Regions from separate parts of the Homo sapiens genome. Here all the other regions are linked to region 5. Evidence: promoter capture Hi-C in human tissues and cell types (Jung and others, 2019). All regions are on one chromosome and are shown on one strand. The core of a region is centred on a gene start or on the middle of the fragment in contact, and the rest is flanking DNA. Distances in the headings are between cores, read along the strand shown.

What was found. The method cuts DNA at HindIII sites, captures the fragments that hold promoters and counts their contacts. A contact is called where the count stands out against the background at its distance.
Region 1: a contact is called between a fragment that was not itself captured here and the fragment with the promoter of MSX1 in region 5, in 1 of the 25 tissues and cell types used here (mesendoderm cells).
Region 2: a contact is called between a fragment that was not itself captured here and the fragment with the promoter of MSX1 in region 5, in 2 of the 25 tissues and cell types used here (dorsolateral prefrontal cortex and mesendoderm cells).
Region 3: the fragment with the promoter of STX18 here is called in contact with the fragment with the promoter of MSX1 in region 5 in 1 of the 25 tissues and cell types used here (mesendoderm cells).
Region 4: a fragment that was not itself captured here is called in contact with the fragment with the promoter of MSX1 in region 5 in 2 of the 25 tissues and cell types used here (dorsolateral prefrontal cortex and spleen).
Region 6: a fragment that was not itself captured here is called in contact with the fragment with the promoter of MSX1 in region 5 in 2 of the 25 tissues and cell types used here (lymphoblastoid cells and spleen).

Annotation. Positions count from the first base shown.
Region 1 is chr4:4,456,903-4,459,602 of GRCh38, forward strand. STX18 (syntaxin 18) reads right to left here. Exons shown (of 11, transcript NM_016930.4): 3 at 2,470-2,585; 4 at 521-598; 5 at 289-355. Among named protein-coding and RNA genes, the nearest start is that of STX18-IT1, 23 kb to the right of the region's middle. The HindIII fragment of the contact is 8,382 bases long and covers 1-2,700 here.
Region 2 is chr4:4,579,957-4,582,737 of GRCh38, forward strand. All of the region lies in intron 2 of LOC124900165, which reads left to right. All of the region lies in intron 2 of STX18-AS1 (STX18 antisense RNA 1 (head to head)), which reads left to right. Among named protein-coding and RNA genes, the nearest start is that of LINC03091, 5.5 kb to the left of the region's middle. RefSeq lists an enhancer at 2,391-2,781. The HindIII fragment of the contact is 7,283 bases long and covers 1-2,781 here.
Region 3 is chr4:4,540,732-4,543,431 of GRCh38, forward strand. It overlaps STX18 (syntaxin 18), which reads right to left and starts at 1,317. Exons shown (of 11, transcript NM_016930.4): 1 at 1,066-1,317. The coding sequence starts at 1,233. It overlaps LOC124900165, which reads left to right and starts at 1,400. Exons shown (of 6, transcript XM_047416490.1): 1 at 1,400-1,744. It overlaps STX18-AS1 (STX18 antisense RNA 1 (head to head)), which reads left to right and starts at 1,400. Exons shown (of 6, transcript NR_037888.1): 1 at 1,400-1,744. RefSeq lists enhancers at 1,187-1,466, 1,191-1,485. The HindIII fragment of the contact is 5,470 bases long and covers 824-2,700 here.
Region 4 is chr4:5,185,074-5,187,866 of GRCh38, forward strand. All of the region lies in intron 3 of STK32B (serine/threonine kinase 32B), which reads left to right. Among named protein-coding and RNA genes, the nearest start is that of STK32B, 130 kb to the left of the region's middle. The HindIII fragment of the contact is 5,864 bases long and covers 1-2,793 here.
Region 5 is chr4:4,858,311-4,861,010 of GRCh38, forward strand. It overlaps MSX1 (msh homeobox 1), which reads left to right and starts at 1,355. Exons shown (of 2, transcript NM_002448.3): 1 at 1,355-2,058. The coding sequence starts at 1,590. RefSeq lists silencers at 1,177-1,236, 1,257-1,496, 1,507-1,946. The HindIII fragment of the contact is 22,824 bases long and covers 1-2,700 here.
Region 6 is chr4:4,405,755-4,408,547 of GRCh38, forward strand. All of the region lies in intron 3 of NSG1 (neuronal vesicle trafficking associated 1), which reads left to right. Among named protein-coding and RNA genes, the nearest start is that of NSG1, 20 kb to the left of the region's middle. RefSeq lists a silencer at 200-330. The HindIII fragment of the contact is 6,386 bases long and covers 1-2,793 here.

The DNA.
Region 1 (2,700 bases), core at 201-2,700, 400 kb before region 5:
GTGGGACTGTGGGATCTAGGGTGAGTGGCCAAGCCTCCTGAGCCTCAACTTCCTCATTTGTAAAATGAGGGAGGAAACAGTACCTGCCTCATGGGGGTTTGTTGTGGGCCAATAAAGTGGCTGGCATGCTGCCTGGCACACAGTGAGTGCCCGGTAGCGCCAGCTATGGCATTTTGCGAAGAAGTTCAAACACGGTACATTGCATAGGGTAAGTGCTCTACAAACTTTAACTGCTATTATTAGTAGTACTATTATTAATTAAGAAACACCAATGAAAGCAATACTTACAATCTTTTCTTATCCACCACTCTTTTAACTCGGATGGCTCTCTGTTCTGAGTAAAGTTTACATACTCCTGTTGCAGAAGAAAATACCAGAAGAGAGACTGCTTAAAACAGCTTCTCAGGCAAAGCCATCATTAAATATAATGAGATACTACAGTCTTCAGCTAGCAAAGCTAAATTCTGCATCACATCTATTGTGAAATGTTACATTTGACCTTTAAAAGAAAATGAAATACTTTTCAAGTAATCTTCAATGAAATCCAAAACAGCGGTCCTGTGCTCCTTCACTTGCTGGGAATGTATCTCCTTGTGAGCTGTAACAGAAAAAGACAATGTTCAGGCCTTCGCACTCAATTATCCTAAAGAGCAATTCATCAGCTTCCTCACAACACTTTCTTTATTGAGAGTATTTTTTAAAACACAGCTATAAAACAAGTCTTGTGCCAAGTGACACTACATTTTTAAAACAGTAAGATGTATCAGGCTTCGCAAGAGTGAAAGATTAAACCTGTAGAAAATCTATAGTCAAATAATTTATGGTTTATCAGAACACTTAAGGATAGTATTTGACGCAGCCACTTCTTGAGTGCTGACCCCATCTGTGTTAACAGCATCCAATGCTCAAGCTGACCTTCAGCGAACATGTTTAAACAACTGAAATCACACACTCCTCCCTGCTTGAACCTGTGCTGCTTTTCAGCCTGTAGTGCCCCATCCTCTCCCCTTGGCCACTCACATTCTAAGGGTCCCTTAGACAATGAGTCAAACTTTCTGTCTCCAGGAAACCTATGACTCCTAGCCACAAAGATGCCTTTCTCCTGGGAACTACCACACAGAAGTGTGCTAAAAGGCCTTACCAGACCTAAAGTCTGTGCCACTGGTTTTGGTAAGATAGTGACCACTGACTGAGAGACTGAGTGCCTACTGCGTGCAGGTACTCTGCTAGCACTTTACATATGTACTGCTAGTAATTACAATAGCAATTCCGAGTTTCCTGATTTTTACACGTGAAGAAACTAAGGTTCAGAGGCAATAAATAGCCCAAGGTTAGATGGTTTCATATGTAAATGTAGGTTTTGTTAAATATTCCTGTGCATTTTTTAGGTCTCTCAATGAATGTATATGCCCTTAAGGGTAGAGGGCATGATTTCTGCCTTACTATAGGGCTGCTTAACCCAAGATTTGTGTGGGGGACTCAGGAGCTCTGTGAAATTGCATATAGAATTTTGTGTATGTACATTTTTCTGGCAAGAATGCCTATTGCTTCCATCAGAGTCTCCAAGTGGTCCGTCAGCATTCTAATAAAAACCTCCCCAACAAAAGTCTGTGTTGTGAGCACAACAGCATCTGGCAGCTTTGAACTCTACTTACTATTTAATGTACTCTGTAAATGCCTAAGCAAATTAAAAAAGAATCAAGAAAGAGGCGTGACTTGGGAAGCCATCTCATTGTCTCAGTGAGAATTAAACATCAACGAAAGTGAGATAATAAGCGCTCTTGTGCCAGACACAGTTCTAAGCATGCTGTAGGAATTTAACTTAATGCTCATAACAACCCTAGAGATACATTCCCTAATTGTCTGCATTTCATAGACAAAAAAACAAGGCCCAGGGAGATTAAGTGATTTGCAGAGGGCTATATGGCTCGGACGGGTGGAGTTGGGGTGCAACCTAAGCAGCCCTGGCTCCAGAGCCTTCCTCCTAACCTTGAAGGTTTGATAGGAAAGTTTACTTGAATATTACAAGTAGAGCTTAAGTACCCCAGGCTGCTGTCAACTCCCATCCCACTAAATGCCACACAGAACAGAGGCACACATGTGCATACACACATACACACCCACACACATACAATTTGCCACACAGAACACACACACACGCACACACACACACACACACACACACACAAATTTGTCTTCACTGCCCCTGGCCCCTAGATATATTTTTGGTTCTGTTTGGAGAGGTCCTTTCCATCTCCCTCCTCTCATTGGTTTAACTTGAATGATACAGCCTTTGCAGTACTTTTAACAGCTTTGGTTAAAACATTGATCAAGAAAGAAAAGATTTTAACGTTTTAAAACCTAAATCGAAATAAGAAGAGGGAATTTTAACTGGCCGCACCATATGCATCTTGTTTAACTACTTGCTATATTCATGGTTGCTTGTTTGCATCTTTCAGAGCACTTTACCTTCTGTTCGTAGTTGCTGAATTGCTTCTGAACAGGTCCTCATGAATATCTGGGCATCCTGGTCTATCTGGTCTCGTTCTGTGTCTGTCATCCTCCCATATTCAGACATGGTATGGCTAAAAAAAGACAGCAAAGGAAAGGGCAGCAGCAAATGAGAACATAATATAGTCTGAGTGGGATGGGAAGAGAAGAAAAGGCCTCCCTGATCAGGTGACATTTAAGCTGAGACTT
Region 2 (2,781 bases), core at 129-2,628, 280 kb before region 5:
CAGTTTTACTTGTCCTCATGTGAGTGTATTTAGTTCTTTGCAATTTTAACATGTATGTAGGTCCATGTATGTAGCGCCACAGTCAAGATACACAACAGCTCTGTCAGCACAGGCTTCTGCAGCCTTTAATAATCACATCTACTTCTCCATGTCACCCAGCATCCCTCATTCTTGTAACACTAAACCTGTTCTCTATCTCTATAATTTCATTATTTCGAGAATGTTCTGTAAGTGGAAGTATATGCTTCTGGGATTGGCTTTTTGACTCAGTCTAATTCTCTTGAGAGTCACTGAGTTATGGCATGCATCAGTAGTGTTTTGTTTTTTTTTTTAATTTTAACTGAGTGGTGTTCCATGGCATAGAAGTACCACAGTTTCTTTAACCATTTACCCACTGAAGAATATCTGTGTCCAGTTTCTGGCCATTATGAGAAATGCTGCTGTGAACATTCACGTACAGGTGTTTGTGCAAACAAAAGTTTTTACTTTTCTGGGAAAAATGTCCAAGGGTATAAAGTCCTTGCTTTTACTCCCAACGTTGTGTGGCCCTCTAGGTTGGTTGCAAAGATCTTTTTTAAAAAGAGCAATGTAAGTTGAGATCTTACTATATATTTGATACTATGGTAAGTACTTTGCATGGATCAACTCATAAGTCCACAAAACAACCTTAGGCTTAAGTACTGGTGATATCCCCATTTTGCAGATGAGGAAACTGAGGCGTAGAGAAGCTACATAGTCTAAGGACACACAGAGTGTAAACAGTTGAGCCAGGATTTGAGCTCAGGCTGCCTGACTCCAGATCTGGCTATTTAACCAGCCTATGAATGAAGTTTCTTGTTTTGGCGAGGGGCAAACTTCTTCTGAAAGTAGAACTTGTATCCAGCAATTTGCATAACTCAAGTGCCCAGCACTAAGAACTTTTACAAAATGATGAATATCCCCTTGGAACCACCACTCAGATCAAGATATGAAGCCTGATAGATGCCCTGAAGTCCCCCTCCTATGTGCCTCCTGTCATTATCCCCTAAGAAAGGGAACCGCTATTTGTACTGCAGTTGCTGTATATTAGTTTTGCTCATTTTTGGATTTTATATAAATGAAACCATAGAGTAAGCTGTCTTTTATATCTGGCTTCCTTCATTCAACAATGTGCGTGCAAGACTCCTCCCTGTAGCCGTGTATAGTAGTCATGTGCTCTTTCTTCTTGCTGCCCTGTATTCCATTGTATGGATATGCCACAGCTTGTTTATTTCTTCTCCAGTTGAATGGCATGTGGTTTGCTTCCGGTTTTGGCTATCATGATTTATGCTGCTATACACACATAAATATAAATATTTAGAGTTTTCCTAGTTATGTTATTATTGATTTCTAGCTTAATTTCACTATGATCAGAGAGTATAACTGTATGATGATAAACCTTTCAAACTCATTGAGATTGGCTGGGCATGGTGGCTCTCGCCTGTAATCCCAGCACTTTGAGAGGCCCAGGCAGGAGGATCACTTGAGCCCAGGAGTTTGAGACCAGTTTGAGCAACATAGTGAGACTCCATTTCTACAAAAAATTTAAAAAAAAATAGCTGGGCATGGTGATGCACATCTATGGTCCTGAGGTTGCGGGGATAGCTTGAGCCTCAGAGATTGAGGCTGCTGTGAGCCACGGTTGTGCCACTGCACTCTAGCCTGGGCAACAGAGTGAGACCCTGTCTCAAAAAAAAAAAAAAAAAGGGAATATGTAAACTGCAGCTGTTGGTTGCATTGCCTTTTTTTTTTTTTTTTTTTTTTTGAGACAGGGTCTCATTCTGTTGCCCAGACTAGAGTGCAACGACATGATCTCGGCTCACTGCAACCTCTGTCTCCTGGGTTCAAGTGATTCTCCTGCCTTAGCCTCCCCAGTAGCTGGGATTACAGGCACGTGCCGCCATACCTGGCTAATTTTTATATTATTAGTAGAGACAGTGTTTCACCATGTTGGCCAGGCTCGTCTCAAACTCCTGACCTCAGGTGATCCACCTGCCTCAGCCTCCCAAAGAGCTGGGATTATAGGTGTGAGCCACCGTGCTCGGCCAGCTCTATTTATTTTTATTGGCTCCAGTTCATTAATCATGTTAAAATCTTTTATATCTTTACTGAATTTCTCTCTGCTTTTTCTTTCAATAACTGAGAGATGTATTTTAAAATCTCCACTAGGATAATGGATTTGACTGTTTCTCCTTTTGTCCCACTTTCTTTGAGGCTATGTTTTTTGCTGCATGCAAATTTTAAATTATTATCTTATTAAATGACTTTTTGATATTATAAAATATCTCTAGTAACAAATCTTGCCTTACAGAATGTATTGTCTTTATATGTTATATAACTACATATGTATGTGTTATAATTATGTAGTGTTGTTATTAAGTATATGTTAATGTAGTTATGTATCAGCTTTTCCTGTCCTTTTAATTTCAGTTTTTCAGACTCCTTATCTTTAAGGTAAATGTTTCATATAATCACAATGTAATTGGGTTTTACTATTTTAGATATCTGATAATTTTTGGATTGCTAAAAAAATTTTGAAAATTATTCCATTTTCCCCACCCTGCTAACTTATTCGTTATGCATTCTGTATTATTCCTGTACCTGTTCCCGTAGAGCAGCGGTCCCCAATCTTTTCCGCACCAGGGACCAGTTTAATGGAAGACAATTTTTTTCATGGATCGGGGGCAGGGGAATGGTTTTGGGATGAAACTGTTCCAGCTCAGGTCATCAGGCATTGTTAGATTCTCATAAAGAGCCTGCAAC
Region 3 (2,700 bases), core at 67-2,566, 320 kb before region 5:
TGTATTCATCTGGTCCAATCCCCTTTCTAATGTTTAAGTATCCTCTGCTAACTGTCATTAATGCATGCATGACTACATTCATTCAAAAATATCTGAGTGTCTATACAGTGCCAAGTGTATGCCAAGCAGAGAAGGATTTACTGTGAAATTAATGAGGCTTAAGCTTTAGGGTCCCTCTCTTCAATCTTCCAAAGCTCTGAATCTTTCTTGGTGATTTTTATTTCTTGAAGAGGGCAGACAGAACTATATAAGCTGTAGGCCCCACAAAACCTAGATACCTCCTTGGTGTCACGAACACAAAAGGGAACAAGACAAACAGCTCTCCCCTTATGGAGTTTTCTGTTTAATGGGAAAGACAGCCATTTGTTCATTCACTCATTCAACAAACATTTACTAAGCAATGCTATGAGTCATGCATTCTGAGATGAAAACAACACTGTCCCTGCCCTTAAGGAAAAGGTTCCTGTTCCCAGGGAGATGAAGGGACACCTGCTCTGATCAGGGAACAGAAAGTAGTTGAGGTGACTGTAACACTGTGTTTGCGAAAGATTACCCTAAACCCGTCTCAAGAGGAACTGAGTCCTACTTATTGCAGAGACAAAGGGAAGAAAGAGTTCGGCTGAATACAGTTTTTAATCTCAACTAGGGGTGGGAGGCAGACAAGTAAATAGAACAGGCAAATATGGTGTGGTCAGTGCTGCAACAGGAAGCGAAGGACTGTCAGGAGGTTTCCCCTGAGTGCAAGTCTGTAGTGACGGCGAACTCATGACCTCACAAAGCCGCCCATGCACTTTCCAGATAGAGATTTCTGAGGATCTCCTTTCTTGTCCCCCAATCCCTGTCGCCGCAGGAGAAATCTGTTCCCCAATATGCGTCCCCCTTCCTCAAAATAAGGCTGTTCCTTCCCCCAAAAAGCTGTAGGGTCTCTGAGGCCAACTCTTCTGTCCCCCTTAGAGCCACCCCCTTCACACAATGCTTACGGGACGGGGTCTGGTTTGGGGCCCGGGGTCCCTGTCGCAGGACTGCCCCCTCCTCAACCCGCCGTTTCCATAGCAACCAGCTCACCACTTCGCGGGCCCGGCTGGAGAAGTCGCCCTTGGGCCGGGGGCTCCGGCGGAACAGCTCGTCCCGGCTGCCATCGACCCCGCCGCCCACCGCCACTCCCAGCGCCTTGTTCCGCGTCTTCACGGTCTTGACGCTGGCCCGGAATAGCAGCGTGATGTCCACCGCCATAGCGACCCGCACCCTCAGCCCCACACTAGGCCCGCCCACGTAAGCAGCCGGCGACCGCGGCGCGAACCCGGCCGCTGAAGGACTGGTCCTGCCCCACACGCCTCCCCCCGGCAACGGCGACGCGAGAAGAAAGGTTCCGGCCTGCGCCCTGCTACCGCGGCGGGAGGAAAAAGGTTCCGGCCTCAGCCGGCGCACCTGGCGGAGGAGGAACCTCGCGACGCGCTCTCGGGCATCGGTTTCTCCCAGCAAAGCTTGGAGGGTTTAGCTGCGCGGAGAGCTCAGCGAGCTCTTCTGTGTCTGTTTGGGGCGTGTGGGCTCCGGGAGCGTGAGGACCGGGAAGCTAGGAGGCTCCTTCCCTTCTGGCGGCTCCCTCACTGAGACCGGGCGGTTTGGTTGCGGGGGAAGTGGAGACGAGCCACCCTTGACCTTTGACTGCAAGAACTCACCTTGAGCAGGATAGAGGCACGTGGACGGTGACCCTCGGGATGCAATAAATGCTGAGACAGATCAGGTGTGCAAGGCACAGAGCTAGAGGCCAGAGGCCTTTCTTCTCCAACCTTCAGTCACCTCTTTTTAAAGTGAAGCCAGCATCCTCCTCGGGGTTTACTGTGAAAATTAAGTGAGCTGACGCGTGCTGTGTTTTGATGTTGCTTGGCTCCTAGTAAGTGGCCAATAAATGGTAGTAATCGTTAATAATGTTATTATTATAATCACTGTTATTTGTGGTAAAGGAAGAGGCTTTAGAGAAAAGGCGTCACCTGTGCAGAGATTTGAAGGATGAATAGGAAGTTTAGATGGAGACAAAGGTGAAAGAGTGGCCCTAATGCCGCTGGATTCTCTTCATCCTTCATGCATAGTTTTTAATTGTACCGTCTTGAGCCATAGCTATTAAAATTGACAACTCAATCAATGAGTTTCTTCTGCATTTTAGGTTCATGTTCTGTTTTGTGTTGTTTTTTGAGACGGGGGTCTACTATGTTGCCCAGGCTGGATTGCAGTGGCTAGTCAGAGGCGCCATCCTAGCTCACTACAGCTGGAACGCCAGGGCTCAAACGATCCTCCCGGACTCAGCCTCCTGAGTAGCTGGGACTATAGGCACGTGCAACCGTGCCTGGCCTATGGTTCAGTTTTAATTCAAAATCTCATTGATTTCTTCAAGATTTCTTTTTTCATAAAGAGGAAGCACAAGTAGAATATGTATTAAAACAGCAGTTTTAATGGTCATCAAGATAAAATTTTCACAATACTAAGATGTTATTTGCCTTTTCGCTCTGATTTTCTTATGAGTTGCATACAGTTGAGTTTGCTGGAGACTGTGATATTGCAACGGAGTAAATGCAGAACAGCTGTTTTCTATTAAGCCAGACTCCAAAAAAAGACTTTCAAAAACATCAAGTTTTTGTTTTGATTTCTCATATAGTAAATGTCGATAATGTCAATATAAACCAAAATTGTTTAGAGCCCTTA
Region 4 (2,793 bases), core at 278-2,777, 330 kb after region 5:
AATGTGTCTTGCGTTTTTAGCATTAGACTGTTATCCTGATTGAATGTTAATGGGTCAGTAGTTCATTCATGTGTTCGGACTGCATTTTCAAAATCCATTTCTACTTACCTAATTGGCTGTATTTACTAGACTCACTGTTAATCTGTTTTGTTTAAAACCGGAGGAGGGAGGCATCTGTCCCTGTCTATTGCCTAAACAACCGAGAGAATGAATGAACATTCTCAGGATGAGAACAGATGTCAGAAGTTAGTTTAAATGGCTCTCAGGGCAATGTAGGTTTCTAGAATCATTTTTGAGTTGCAATGGACTGAGTCAGTACACGGATATCTACCTGCCAGTCTAAGCCAAGAAACAATCACTTAAATCAGAGGCTACATTTTAAGTGTTGAGAGCTTTGATTAAAATAAAACTATATTAAGTATTTGAAGGCAGAGCCGATCTGGCTGAAGTAGTGGAGGGCAGGGAAAGGGACGTGGGGGAGGACAGAGACTGGAAGGCATCAGGGAAACCTTTGACAAAGCTTCTCAGCCTTATAAACAATTGCTAGATGCTGAGCAGTGTCATTTCCACAGAAGCAATTGTCCCTAGCCTGAACTGTTGCTATAGGCTCCTAACTACTGTTTCAATGCCCAGCCAGTTACCCATCACCCACGTGCCCTTCACAGGACAGGTCTTATCAAAGCGTAAGTCTGTGCCTACCACGCCTCTGCATAAAATACCACAATGGCTCCCGAAGCCCTCAGAATGAACGTCTTTCTGTGATCTAGCCTGTAACACTATGTACAGTCTCATCCCCTGACACCCACCCCTACTACCATCTTGGGCCATTTTTGTTCTCGTCCATACTAACTGGTTTGTGGGTGATCTGTCATACATCCTACTGTTCTCATCTCTCCAGGCCTCTGCTCAGGCTGTGCCCTCTGCCTGGAACACCGTCTGTTCTTCGGTCACTGCGAGAACTCCTGCTCATCCTCCACAGGAATTCATTCATTAAGTCGCTATTCACTGGGCTCTTATTGGGTACCAGGCACTGTTCCAATTTCTAAGGGTGCAGTGGTGAAGACAGTCAGTATGGCTCCTGTCCTCTTGGAGTTCATAGTCCAGGCCTCACCTCCTCCATCAGCCCTCCTCGGGACACCAGCCCCAGACAGTGGTGCTTTCTCGCAGATCCTGTTATGGCATAAAGGCAGCTCTGTCACGGTTATCTGCTGGGGTGTGTGTTTCCTCCGTGAGCAGTGGGCCGCTTGAGGAAGGGGACCATACCTTATTCATCTCTGTCTCCCTAGCATCTGACGTTCAGTAGATTAATTTATGTAGTGCTGTTAAGGGCCCCTGACATGCCAAATGCTGTGCTAGACCCTGGTGGCAGAACTGTGAGGAAGACAGTTCCTCCCTGTCTTACAGGTGAGAGAAGACAGATGCTAACCAGCAGTCGCTTATCTCGCTTGCTCTCTTCCCTCCATCTGGGATGGTTATCGTGCTTTGGTGTCCTGGGTTAACTTAAAAACTATAGAGATTTCAAACACCCACCATGCCCTGGAGGGTTAAGTGATATCCTGGTCCATCCCCAACACACAGAGATGGAGAATGTCCCTGGGGTTTTCCCAGTTCCAATTAGCGATGTCTTCATCAGTCTCCAGCGCCTCCTCGACATACCCATCCCCATGGTAACACCCATAAATAGAGGGTTAAGAGGCGAGGCTCTCCTATCTAGAGTCCCTCTCTCATTCTTGACTGTTCCAGCATTTGTAGCACCATGGAAACTTCATCTTATGCTTTAAAGATACCAGGTGTGTAATGTTTTCTTTGTAAGTGACATGAGTTTGTTATTCTTCAGGGGGCAGGATTGGCAGCTGTGAGTGTGGGTCACAGGATGCACCTGCCCGCACTCCGACACTCAGGGGGCCTGTGCTGAGCTGTTCAGAGGGCTGCATGAGGAGCCAGAGGACACGCAGTACAAAAACAGGAATTGGGGAAAACACAGCTGGGCTTGGGGGATTGGCTGTGGTGTGTCAGGCAGTTCCTGCAGGTGAGTGAGGGAATCCGTCCAGTAGTCAGAGAAGCCATGGGGTTTACCCAGGGTCACGTGGAAGAGCCAGGATTCTTCCAGACCTGTGGGCTGTGTGTGGGGTACTCCGCTTCTCCCGCACCACAACACAGCACCTTCTTGTGCCCGTTTTCCTGACTGCTCTTCATGCTTTCCCAAGGGTCTTCTGAACCAGGACTCTCTTGGTCCATGGGGAATTAGTAAATTTATCCCACACCTATTCAGTAATAGTAGTACCAGTACCATTTGTCCATCACCTACAGCACATGGCTCTTTGCATATTTTATCTGGATTAATCCTCAGAACCATCGTGCAAGGTGGATGTTACTGTCTCGTTTACAGCTGGAAAAGCTGAAGACTAGTGGATTAAGTTATTTGTGCAAAATATATAGCCAACAAGAGTCAGTACTGGGATTAAAAGCAATGGTGTGCTGGTAAATGCTTAACAACCAGCTCTCCAGGATGGGGTGTGTCGGGGCAGGGTGGCAGGGGCCGGGCGGGGGAGGGGGGGGACAAGCCCTGTTTGCCAATTTCCATGGTGTAAATAGTTTCTCATAATGGTTGATTTCAAACTAACAATATGGTGTCAGCCAGCCTGCAACATTTCTGAAGATTTAGCATTTGATTATGATGAGCTAGTATAAGCCGGCTCCCGCACAACTCTGCCAGACTCAGATCTAACACCAAAGCCTATGCTCTTTCTAAAGCCAACTTCTGTGAGTTAGGCCCAAAGCTAAGCCTCAAAA
Region 5 (2,700 bases), core at 105-2,604:
GTGTTTCCTGGAGATTAGAACCCCGCAGTCATCAATGGCAGGGCCGAGTGAGCCGCCAATCACCTCCGCTCACTCCCTGAGAGCCGCTGGCCTGGGCCGCAGGAGGAGAGGCCATAAAGCGACAGGCGCAGAAAATGGCCAAGCCCCGACCCCGCTTCAGGCAGATCTTGCATCTCCCCTGACCCCAACTCATTTTTTCTGTCTTTATTATTATTATTATTATTAACAGCAAACATTAAATCACGTTTTCTCCGAAATTGGCAAAAGAAGAGTTCTCAAGTCCCACACTAGAGTCCACCTCCAGGAACTTTCCTCTTTTCCCAGCCCCCTCCCCCAAATGTGCCTCTCCCCTCCAGGATCAGCGGCCCAGAGATAGGGACATGTCATTGTTTCCGAGGACGCGTTGTTTGAGGTCACCTTAAGGCCAGATCGGTGTTTCATTGACGATTCTGTTGGTTTTATTTCAGTAAGTTCTATATCAAAAGGATCTGGCAGCTCCTTTCCCCGCCCGGGCGCTATAGGTGTTGTGACCCTTGGGACAGAAGTTCAGAGCGAGGGTGGGGGGGGGGGAATACACATCGTGTATGAAAACCGACTGCAGATTCTAGATAATCTTACGTATTCTCACATCCTTGGCACTACAGGAAGCTAGCTTCTTCCCGCAAGGTTTACTCCAGCTCTAAGTTAGAGACAAAGGCCCACTTTTACCTCGAGGTAAAGTTTACAAGATTTCAGAACAGGAAGAAAATGAAGGTTTGGTTTTGTTTCGTTTCTTGAAAAGAAGTTAATAGTATGTCTTTCTCCTAGGATAAATAGCCATGCGTATTTTAAAAACTATATATAAAAGGAATGTGTAAGAAATAACCTCAACTCAAATTATTGTGGTAGAAGAAGAGGGGGGGTCAGACAGTGGAGGGGGGCACAGGGAAACCCAGCCACAGACTAAAGAGAAAGGTAAAAGAAGCAGTAGAGGAGAGAAACAAGGACGGGGAAAAAAAGAGGAGCGGAAAAGAGGGCTGAGGAGGGGAGGGGAGGGGAGGAGAGGAGGGCAGAAGAGAAGGAACGAGAACAAGGGAAAATCCCCCGGGAACACAGAAAGATAGAGACCCAGGGGACTCCCGCAGAGAGGGCCTCTTGGGCTTCAGCGCAGAGGAAAGTTTCCCGGGCACCCCCTCTCCTCCCCTGCCCTCCGCCGCCTGGGCCCTGCCCTGCGTGCCCCCAGGCCCAGCGCGCCTCCGGGCGAGTCCCCAGGAGCGCGGCCCAATGGATCGCTCCGGGCCCGCCCCCTCGCGCGCTGATTGGCCGCCGCCCCGCTGGCCTCGCCTTATTAGCAAGTTCTCTGGGGAGCCGCGGTAGGGCCCGGAGCCGGCGAGTGCTCCCGGGAACTCTGCCTGCGCGGCGGCAGCGACCGGAGGCCAGGCCCAGCACGCCGGAGCTGGCCTGCTGGGGAGGGGCGGGAGGCGCGCGCGGGAGGGTCCGCCCGGCCAGGGCCCCGGGCGCTCGCAGAGGCCGGCCGCGCTCCCAGCCCGCCCGGAGCCCATGCCCGGCGGCTGGCCAGTGCTGCGGCAGAAGGGGGGGCCCGGCTCTGCATGGCCCCGGCTGCTGACATGACTTCTTTGCCACTCGGTGTCAAAGTGGAGGACTCCGCCTTCGGCAAGCCGGCGGGGGGAGGCGCGGGCCAGGCCCCCAGCGCCGCCGCGGCCACGGCAGCCGCCATGGGCGCGGACGAGGAGGGGGCCAAGCCCAAAGTGTCCCCTTCGCTCCTGCCCTTCAGCGTGGAGGCGCTCATGGCCGACCACAGGAAGCCGGGGGCCAAGGAGAGCGCCCTGGCGCCCTCCGAGGGCGTGCAGGCGGCGGGTGGCTCGGCGCAGCCACTGGGCGTCCCGCCGGGGTCGCTGGGAGCCCCGGACGCGCCCTCTTCGCCGCGGCCGCTCGGCCATTTCTCGGTGGGGGGACTCCTCAAGCTGCCAGAAGATGCGCTCGTCAAAGCCGAGAGCCCCGAGAAGCCCGAGAGGACCCCGTGGATGCAGAGCCCCCGCTTCTCCCCGCCGCCGGCCAGTGAGTAGCCAGAACCCAGGCGCAGAGGGAGGGGGCCGGGTGGGGGCCGGGTGGGGTGTGGGACCCGAGGGCTCCTGGTGGCCTCCGGCGCCTGCGTACCTGCAGCCGGTGCTAGGGAGCCGTGGGCTGCAAGGCCGGGTCTTGCGCCTCCCTCCACTCCCACCCAGGAAGAAGGTTCCAGACCTCCTCGCCTTGGCCCAGAGACGCTGCGGGTGGGAGTTAACGGATAGGACACCGATGTCTGGGCACCCTGTCCTCCTGCCCCCACCAAACGACCTCAGGGGTCCATGATCCCTCATCTGATCCCAAACTCTGTTTCATCGGCTTCACCCCAGCGGATGAATGTGTGTGGTGCGGTATCTTCCCTGCACCCGGAGTTTCACTTTCTCGCAGTAGGAGCTGGTGTCCCCCAGCCCCTCTTCCCTTTCAAGTACCTCTTTGCCTAGAGGTTCCGAAGCTCCTACAGAATTCTACCTCCCCATGCCCTTTGAGTTTGAGGCAGATAGTTGGTGCTTTGGGCGGATGGATGATTCAGGGGTGGGGACATTCAGGTTCCAGTGGAGGGGGCGGGGCACCAAGTCAATTAGGGGAAGGCGCCCCCGCTAATCCTATGGGAAGCTCCCAAACGTCTAGGACTGAGCC
Region 6 (2,793 bases), core at 232-2,731, 450 kb before region 5:
TTTCTTTGCCCTTCTCCCCTTGACTGTTCCAGGGACTCTCGCATTCTCGTTGCACGGTTCGGCTGGCTCCTCAGCCGTTGGGCCTGGGATCCTGGAGGAAAGGCTTGGCCAGGTTTCGGAGGACACCCCCGAGGAGGTGGTTCCCCCACAGCCCTGCAGGAGAGAATGGGGGTTCTTTTTAAATCTAGACAGGTGGGGTACCAGGAGCCAAACTGATGTGGCTTCCCAACTGGAGAAACAGGTTTAATGATGCCCCATCTCTTCAAGGACTTGAAACCCTCTTCTTTTTTTGAGACGGAGTCTCACTCTGTTGCCCAGGCTGGAGTGCAGTGGCGCGATCTTGGCTCACTGCAACCTCCACCTCCTGGGTTCAAGCGATTCTCCTGCCTCAGCCTCCTGAGTAGCTGGGATTACAGGCACTCACCACCACGCCCGGCTAATTTTTTATATTTTTAGTAGAGACGGGGTCTCACCATGCTGGCCAGGCTGGTCTTGAACTCCTGACCTCATGATCCACCCGCCTCTGCCTCCCAAAGTGTTGGGATTACAGGCGTGAGCCACCACGTCTGCCCCTGAAACCCTCTTCTAACAGGACATCTGCACCTGTGGTGGCTTGGCTCTCTTCTCAGAATAGTGTTTTCAGATGCACAGAATAAAATGCAAAGGGTTACGAAGGAGGCCAGTTAAATGGAACCAAGTCCTTCTGGACCACCCTGAGTGAGGCAGCCCTGCAGTGTAGACTTGGAGAAAGGCAGGTAGCTGGAGCCCGGGCAGGCTGGCCCCGGGTGAACATGCGACGGGGCAGCTGGTTAGAGGGTTGAGAGCCCGCTCTGCTGTCTGCCAGGCGCACACCCCAGGGCCAGTGAGGAGATGAGAGTGAGGATAACAGCAGCGACAGCAGACAGCTCCGTCATGCTCCCCCCCAACCCAGGTGCTGTTCTCAGTGTCCCGTGACTGTCCCTGGAAGGCGTTCCTTTCACTGCTATTCACAGGCTGGAGCCAGGTGCCAGACTCCCGGCCAGTGAGCTAGAGCCGCAGGGTCTGTGCTCCGGCCCCTGTCCAGAGCCTGTCCCAACCCCAGGCACCATCAGGGCTTGCGGCTATCATCGCCAGGCAGCCCTCCCTGGCTGGGCTCCTGCCACTGCCTCTGGCTGCCACGTGCCTCAGACGGCTGCGCCTTCTTTCTCCGGCCAGCTCTGCCTGCTTCATCACAGCTCTGCGCTCTGCTGCCCTGGCCCAGGTGCTGTGCGCTGGCCTGTGCACTGCAGCTGTGATCTGGACTAAACGGCGCCTTTCCCTGTGGGCACTGCGGCCCTGGGGAGCAGCCTGGCTCCATCCTGTCTGTGTCCCTTGTCAGGCACAGGCTCCATATGCACTGTAGGCCATCCCAGTGGACTGGAGTTTCTCTGGCCCTTAGAGAGGGTGATGGCCCTGAGAAGGCAACCTACGGTCGGGGTTGGGGGAGTGGAGGCGGGAGACGTGACTGAGGAACTGGCAGGACCTGGGGACCAGGAGGATGGGCCTGCTCAGAGGGGATGTGAATCTGCCTGCCAGGGGCCTGAGGGGTCCCTCCCTAGGTGAAGGGACACAGAGGGGACAGGTCTCATTGGAGTTGTAGTGGGTCTGAGCTGGGGAGATGGGAGGGCGGGCGGTGGGATGTAGCAGGTAGCCAGGCGGAGTGCGAGAGCAGCCTGGGCTGGGGTCTCAGGGTCTTGGTGCTGCCCTTGTCCTGCCCCGGGCACTGTGCTGAGAGCCCCTGGGACCAATGAATCTGGCAGCACAATGGACAGGAATCTGACTGCAGAGAGGCCACGTCCCTCAGCTCTGAGCCACCCCATTCAGCTGGTCCTGTGGCCAGGGCTCCCTGCAGTCAGGATGCAGGCTCGGGGACAATTGTGAGGCCTGGAGATGAAGACCTCCGGGAAGTGGAGGCAGGGGATGAGCTGCAGTGACTAGTGTGGCTCTCCAGGCATCTGCAGCCTTGCAGAGACGGGGACGTGGTGGAGGTGTCGTCCCATGTCATAGGGAAGGAGTCTGTGGCTCAGAGAGGTTAAGGGGCTTCCAAGGTGGTGAGGCTGGTAAGCTGCGAAGGTGCAGAGCTGCAGGCAGAATCTGCACCCTGGGCCCTGGTGCTGGGGCCTGAGCGGCTTGCAGGGGGTGCATAGGGGCCCCCAAAGAGAAGGAGGGTTAGCCTCAGCATTCACGGCAGGGTGGCCGCCCGTCTCCCAGGTGACCATGCTGCACGGCTGATAGGACACTTTCTCACGTACATCTCCTGCTTCCCCAGGACCAGTGCCTGGGACGCCCTTGGTCTCCTATCACAGATGGGAACTGGGGACTGCATGGTGTTAGGGGACTCCAAGCCTAGAGTTCCTGAAGCGGGCAGGGCTCAGGAGGGCACTCTGCTGGAGGGTCTACCCAGTTGAGCTTCGGGACTGCAGCCTTAGGAAGCAGCAGAGCTCCCCAGTTCTTTAACCTTGTTGGCTGTAGGGTCTGTATGTGGCCAGGGGAGAGTCCCAGCCCCTCGCATCCTCCAGGCTGCTGGGAGGGGCGGTGGGGAGCGAGCAGCTCTGTGCATGTTCATACGATTACGGAGGCCCTGCCACGTGCTGGCACCTGGCATCCTCCCACCCGGCCAGGGAGCCCCATCGCTCTCTCTGCCTCTCTGGGCAGGCGGAGGGCCATCTGCACGCTGTTTTAGCTTTTTATTGATTGATTTATTTTGAGGTAGAGTCTCGCTCTGTCACCCAGGCTGGAGTTCAGTGGCACTATCTCAGCTCACTGCAGCCTCTG